Linked DNA regions of Homo sapiens: region 2 is linked to region 1. Evidence: promoter capture Hi-C in human tissues and cell types (Jung and others, 2019). All regions are on one chromosome and are shown on one strand. The core of a region is centred on a gene start or on the middle of the fragment in contact, and the rest is flanking DNA. Distances in the headings are between cores, read along the strand shown. Region 1 holds the start of CCDC136 (coiled-coil domain containing 136). Region 2 holds the start of LOC124901863 (U4 spliceosomal RNA).

Region 1 (3,645 bases), core at 834-3,333:
TGGGTAAAATGAGGCTGAGACCTACTGGGCTGCATTCCCAGACGTTTAAGGAATTCTAAGTCACAGGATGAGATAGGAGGTTGGCACAAGACACAGGTCATAAAGACCTTGCTGATAAAACACCTTGCAGTAAAGAAGCCGGCCAAAACCCACTAAAACCAAGATGGCAGTGAGAGTGACCTCTAGTAATCCTCACACTGTTACACTCCCACCAGTGCCATGACAGTTTACAAATGCCATGGCAACATCAGAAAGTTACCCTACATTGTCTGAAAGGGGGTGTCAGGAATAAACCACCCCTTGTTTAGCATATCATCAAGAAATAACCAAAAAAAGCAGCCCTTGGGGCTGCTCTGTCTATGGAGTAGCCATTCTTTATTCCTTTACTTTCCTAATAAACTTGCTTTTAGTTTATCCTATGGACCTCCCTGAATTCTTTCTTGCGTGAGATTCAAGAACCCTCTGTTGCGGTCTGGATCCGGATCCCTTTCCTGCAGCGGGGGGAACGCAGACAATACTAGCCCTCGACCTGTGAGTGGATGTGCCAGAGAGGGGATCCGCGTGTGTCCCTGGCTTAGGAATCTTCCAGCCATTTCCTGGATGTGCTGGGGAGCCCCTGTTCCCAACTGTGCCCACTTCTATCCTTGCCGAGACCTGCCGAGATGTGAGAACTGCCTCTTCAAGAGCCGGCACCCAGTAGTCATAGCCTGAATAAACGAATGGTTGAAGACGTGAAATAAGCCCCCTGGGCTTCCAAATCTCCCTTCCACGAGAGTGAACATCAGTCGTGCCCACTCTGAGCGGGCTACTGTGGGGGCGTGGCTCGCAGCCCACCGGGTGTGGGACCGGAAGGGAAGACAGGGCGGAGGAGAGGGGGTCTTCCGGCCCTGAGGCTTGATGGGGCCACCGGAGGGCTCCTCCTAAGAGGGTCCTTGGCCCTGGCTCGGTGGGGGGTCGCGGAAAGCGGAGAGGTCAGGGCCCTGCCGTTCGCCCATCCGGGCCTCGACTTCCCTCCTCCGGCCCCCAGGCTGCCGAGGGGCCACCGGGCAGGGGTGGGCAGGGCCTGGGGCCGGAGTCAGCGCGGACTGCTAGGTGGGGGCGCCGGCCGGGCGGGGGAGGGAGGGAAGGAGGGGCGCGCGTGTCTGCGCTTTTGGAGGAAACAGTCCCACCTCGTCCTTTGCCGTCCCCATTGCTGAGCATGACCGGGCCCTGACACCTGGTGCAGAAGGGTCCCTGGGCACAGCAGACCCCGGGGGGACCCGCCGCCAGAACCAGGGGATCTCGCTCCTCCCTCTTGGGGCAGCCATAAGCCTAGGAGCTCCTGACGCTGTCCGGGCCCCGCGGCTCCCCGCGCTCTCTAGGGGAGAGCCTTGGGGCGTATCCGGGGTCGCGCTCACCCTCCCGCGCCGCCCCCTGCACGGGCTCGGAGCTCCCGAGTGCTGGGAGGGCTTCCGGGCGGCGGCGAGCGGCGGGGGGCGGTGTCAGGAGGCCCGGCCAGGCCCCGCCCCCTCGTCCGCCCTCCCTCCCTCCCTGCGCACCCGGCTCGGGTCCCCGGGCTCGCGGCTGCGGCTTCTGCTCAGGGAGGCGGAAGGCGGCGGCGGGAGCGGTCATGGAGGCGGGCGCCGGAGCCGGCGCGGGAGCCGCGGGCTGGAGCTGCCCGGGCCCAGGTCAGAGCCGCCCCTCCGTCACCTGTCTACCGCCCCTCCTTTCTCTCCTCCATCCCTCCTCCTTCCAGACCCCCAGGTGCTCCCGGCCTCCGCGGCTCCCCTTTCTCCGCCCAAAGTCTTCCTCCCTCCATCCTGGCCTCCACCGGGGCCCGGTCTCCATCCTTCCGGCCTGGGACTGAGGCTTCCGCGCACCGGCCGCATCCTGCCTGGTGGTCCCTCCCCAGCGCGTCTCTCCACTTCAGTCCGACGGTGCTTCCAGCCTTCGGGACTGCAGACCCTACACCTCCTGCAGCCCCGGAGACTCCTGAGCGCGGGGCGAGGGTGGGGTGGGCAAGGTCCAGCGAGAGAATGGGAGGAGAGGGGAGGGGAGCGGTCGCAGCCCTACCCCTTCCCGCACGCCCCCCACTCCTCCCTCCCTCCATCTGTAGGCCACCTCAGCCTTTCAGCCTCTTCTTCACTGGCTCCCGCCCTCTTTCAGTCTTGGCCCTCTCCTCCCTGTCCCCCCGGACTAAATACGCACACCCCCTCTTTCTTTCTGTGCAAGCAAGAGGGTCCTGGAACAGCGGGTTCTGAGGAGGCTGGGAGGCAGGGCTGAGAGGTGGCCGAGAGAGAGGAGTCGCAGAGCCGCCAGAGTGAGTCAGGCACCTCCACTGGGATTACAGATCCCAGAGCCTCGAGGAGCTGGAAGACATGTCCCCTTCTTTCCTCTGCACCCCAGCCCGCAGCCAGCCCCCCACCCCCCAGCCCCTCCTTTCTCCCTGCTCTCAGGACCCACAGTGACCACTCTAGGCTCCTATGAGGCTTCCGAGGGCTGTGAGAGGAAGAAGGGCCAACGCTGGGGGTCCCTGGAACGACGGGGGATGCAAGCTATGGAGGGTGAGTTTTCCCAAAAGGCTTCTTTCTTTCCCCTCCCCTCCTCCCTTAATTCCCTTCTTTCCTCCCTCTGACCCCCAGGCCTCTGAGCCAGGACACAGCCCTTCCCTCAGTTCATCTTAGCCCCTCTTCCTGCAGCTCAGAGCTCCAGCCCTTCCCAGGGCTCAGGCTTTGACAGAAGTTCAGGATGCATCCCTTCGGGACCCCAATCACCCCCCAGCTAACCAGGTTATGTGTCCCGAGGGAGCTGCCAGACAGAGAAAGAGGCCTTGTTGGACAGAGCTTTGAAGCAGCCTTTCAGCAGGGGGTTTGTCCTCACTGCCTGCCGACCCAGATCCCAAGCTGTCTCTTATTTTAAAAAGCAAGGAACTGGGCATGTGAATTGTCTTTCTGGGGCCACCAACATTAACTTCGAATGGAAGCCTGTGGCTTTGGTTCTTTAGGATACCTTATTGCCTGAAAGAGAGAGCCTAGGAGGGGGCGCGTGAGGCCATCCTCCCAACACACGTGTATCCCCACCACACCCATGTGACTTGGCAGTTGCTGCCAACACCAGGCCCCTGGAAGGACGCTGGTCCATTTGCCAGTACTTCCTGTGAAGTGTTGCACGTTGCACATTCAGTATGGGCAAACCTGCTCCCCCTAAGGGGGACAGATGGCACGAAGGGTCCCAGTTGAACCTAAGGCTGCTGATATTAGATAAAGTAAGACCAGAGATTCAGAATTTTAAAACAAAGCAAACAATCACCATCCAGACAACATTTTGCTATTTATAGGGACTGCGTTGCAGTAAAGGAGCGGGTGCTCACAACCAGAGGCTGGGGGCCAGCACCAAACCCCAGTTTTTTTAATGCATTAAAATGGTAGGCTTTCTTTTACACACAAGTACAGCCTAAAACTTCCCCTGAAATCTACTTTGTGGTCAGCAGAGTAGGAGGGGCCTCATATGGCTCAGCTAGGGGAGAGGAGACCTTGTGACATGCAGCAGGGAAAAACAAGGTGGACCTTGTAGAAAATTTCAAACAGGTATTTAATAATATACATTTGAAAGGGCGCCCGAGTTTGTCCAATGAAACCTCTACAATCAGATATTTTCTTTCTCTAC
Region 2 (3,645 bases), core at 474-2,973, 310 kb after region 1:
TGCAGCGCCATTCCCATCCTCCCCCAGTGCAGGCCAAGTCCACAGTCTTCTTCCTCTTCCCCAACACTGCACCAAAGCCTCTGCTGTCTCATGCTAGCCTGCTTCGTTGGCATCATTTTTTGACCTTCCTGGCCTCATACTTTGCGGGCAAGGAAAATCATAGAATAATTTCTGTTTTCCTGACCTATTGAGAAACTCTGAAATGGTTTGTGCCCCTCATGTAGTCAGAGAGACCCTAAACAGAATCCATTCTGCTGTATTCCTCATGGGACCATTTGGAATACAACAGACCCCAGCAGGCATCAATCATCTGCCATTTCAGCTAAGGAAGGAGAGAGTGAGCCTCTCTTTCATGGCATTCGGTTTCCTGGCTCTGGATTTGACCTATGCGCAAACTTCCAGGGTGGCTTGAGCATAATGATGCTATCAACCAGCTCAGATGCCCTAGGAGGTGGCCTTACAGAAATGGTAGACTTGTGGTATGGCACAAATGTAGGCTGGCTACCTGTCTACACCTGCTCACCAGTCTGGCCAAGCCCTGAGACTGGCTGGGCCTGTCCACAGCACTGAGGCCCATGGGGACAACTATAGCTGTGTGTATGCCCATACAGTTAAGTGTCCTTTATGCTATGGGGTGGGACTTGCTGTGTGCCCCTCCTCCAATAACCTGCCAATTCCAATCATTCTGTACCTTCCTCTTTTTCTTCATGCTGGCCTTTTTCTCCCCCCAGCTTTTTTTGAATTTCAATTAGCAATAATCATGCCTTGGATAAACCTCATCGGCTACAATACTGCCACTGTGCAAAGCTCTGGCCTTTTTTTTTTTTTTCTGCAGGAAAGTATCCATGGGCCAAACCACAAAAGTTTTGAATCTTGAGCCAGTTCATCAACCAGGGCCAGTCCAATGAACCCAGACACAAACACACTCAGGCTTCTGGTTTTGGTGAATGTCAATGCCAGACACACTGTAGTGGGGATGAGGGGCGGAAAGGGGTTTGTCCCACATGAGACCCCATGGCAGCTGGCCGTGGAACTTGGGAAGCCATTGTCATTTTTATCACCCATTTGTCACAATAATACTGAGCCTCACCTGTTTCAAGATCTCAGGGTGGTGCCCTGGAACCTCAAGTGGTGGCATCCTCCTCAGCCACCTGCTGGCATCACTTACAGGCCACCTCCATCCTCCCAGTCACACTTCACTTTCTGACCCTGGCCTTCATCCAGTCCAGTCCAGGTCACTGGCCAAACACATGTGTTTTTAGGGTAAATAATTGCTTATGAGTGACCATCTTCCATCAGCCTCATGCCAACTGCTGCTCGTATTTATACACACTGTCCAGCACTGGGTAAAGCACTGAGTAGGCTCTTTATATGGGGTATCTATTTTCATTATCACTGTGCTATGTGGTGCTTCCTAAATACAAAGTTTTTGAGTTCAGAACCATCTATCTTTCAGTTCTCAGTGTGGCATTCCAACTGCAATGTAATATCTTGCCATGGCCTCAAATTCAACATAATTTTTTTTTTGGTTTTTTGTTTTGTTGTTGTTTTTTTTTTTTTGAGATGGAGTCTTGCTCTGTCGCCCAGGCTGGAGTGCAGTGGCACGATCTCGGCTCACTGCAAGCTCCGCTTCCTGGGTTCACACCATTCTCCTGCCTCCGCCTCCCGAGTAGCTGGGACTACAGGCGCCCGCCACCACGCCCTGCTAATTTTTTTGTATTTTTAGTAGAGATGGGGTTTCACCGTGTTAGCCAGGATGGTCTCGATCTCCTGACCTCGTGATCCGCCTGCCTCGGCCTCCCAAAGTGCTGGGATTGCAAGCGTGAGCCACCATGCCCGGCCTTTGTTTTTGTTTTGAGACAGTCTTGCTTTGTCGCCCAGGCTGGAGTGCAATGGCCCAATCTTGGCTCACTGCAACCTCCACCTCCCAGGTTCAAGCAATTCTTGTGCCTTAGCCTCCTGAGTAGCTGGGATTACAGACGTGCACCACCGCCACACCCGGATAATTTTTGTATTTTTAGTAGAGACGGGGTTTCGCCATGTTGGGCTGGCTGGTCTCGAACTCCTGGCCTCAAGTGATCCACCCACCTTGGCCTCCCAAAGTGCTGGGATTACAGGCATGAGCCACCATGCCTGGCCCAAAATCAAAATAATTAAAAGTGAATTCATTCCCTCCAAATCAGGTTTTTCCTTCCATCTCCTCTATTTCTGTTACCAATTTCTCAGTCCCTGGGATTAAAAAACCTGAAAATCTTCCCTCTAAATCCTCTCTAACAATTATCTCTCATATTTAATCAGTTTTCTGATACTTTAGACTAGATTCTTTTTGAATGCTTCCCTAACCCAGTAGTTCTCAACACTGGTTGTCCATTAGAATTATTAGAGGAGCCATTTTAAAATAAATATGTGGGTCATGCCTGGGGCCACCTCCCTCAGACAGCTGTGTAGGTTATTCACTGCACTAGGGTGAGGGGGTTGTTCCAGCTCACGCTCTCCTTGCTAAGCCTTTGGCCCTAGCATGGAACTACCTTTGACTGGAGAAAAGGAAGCTTTTTTGAACTCACACAAAGGCACTGTAAGGGCTAAGAAAGGTCTGGCCATTTCCCTGAAATTCTGATTCAGCAGACGTAGGCATTTATATTTTAAATAGTTCAGTGAGATATATAAACTTTACTCTTAAATAGTGGTGTTCCTTTCTCCCTCTTTTTGTGATATTATTGTTACACATATTGCTTCTTTGTATCATAAATCCAACAGTATGGTGTTATAATTATTACTTTTTAATTTTTATTTAATTTTTTTTTAATTGAGACAAGGTCTCACTATTTTGCCCAGGCTGGTCTCGAACTCCTGGCCCATCTTGACCTCCCAAAGTCCTGGGATTACAGGCATAAGCCACTGTACCTGGCTATAATTATTACTTTGAAAGAACCTGAGAGAAGAAGACCAAGTACATATTTATAGAGTTAGTTATATTAATCTTATTTACCCTTCCTGTTCCTCTTGATTTCTTCCTATGGATTTCAGTTCCTATCTGCTGTTATTTCCTCACTCCCATATAGCTTTGCTCCCACCTGCCTCCTTTGTGCTGTTATTGTCAAGTATATTACATTTTTACATGTCATCGTCCTAAAAATATAATTCCATACATGTTATTTTACACAGCTGCTTTTTATGTGAACTCTAACTCGAAAACCATAAAATTCACCCCTCGATGATTATTGGTGACTAATGATGAGCATCTTTTCGTTTGCTTTTTGGCCATTTTTATCTCTTATTTGGATAAATGTCTATTTAGATCTTTTGCCCATTTTTAAATTGGGTTATTTGTCTTCTTATTGTTGAGTTGTAGGGGTTACTTTTTTTTTAATCTGTCTTTGTTTTTTGTTTTTCTGTTTTTTGGTTTTTGTTTTTGAGACAGAGTCTCACTCTGTCACCCAGGTTAGAGTACAGTGGCACCATCTCGGCTCACTGCAGCCTCCACATCTCAGGTTCAAGAGATCCTCCCACCTCAGCCTCCTGAGTAGCTGGGACCGCAAATGTGCACCACCATGCCCAGCTAATTTTTTGTATTTTTTTTCTTTATCTTTTTCTTTTTTTGGAGAGCTGGAGTTTCACCATGTTGCCCAGGTTGGTCTTGAGCTC

The links. The method cuts DNA at HindIII sites, captures the fragments that hold promoters and counts their contacts. A contact is called where the count stands out against the background at its distance.
Region 2: a contact is called between a fragment that was not itself captured here and the fragment with the promoter of CCDC136 in region 1, in 1 of the 25 tissues and cell types used here (lymphoblastoid cells).

What each region holds. Positions count from the first base shown.
Region 1 is chr7:128,789,885-128,793,529 of GRCh38, forward strand. CCDC136 (coiled-coil domain containing 136) reads left to right here and starts at 2,084. Exons shown (of 18, transcript NM_022742.5): 1 at 2,084-2,543. The coding sequence starts at 2,528. RefSeq lists silencers at 1,191-1,660, 1,199-1,467. The HindIII fragment of the contact is 16,505 bases long and covers 1-3,645 here.
Region 2 is chr7:129,102,892-129,106,536 of GRCh38, forward strand. It overlaps LOC124901863 (U4 spliceosomal RNA), which reads right to left and starts at 809; the gene lies at 664-809. It also overlaps the pseudogene LOC112267982. The HindIII fragment of the contact is 8,145 bases long and covers 1-3,645 here.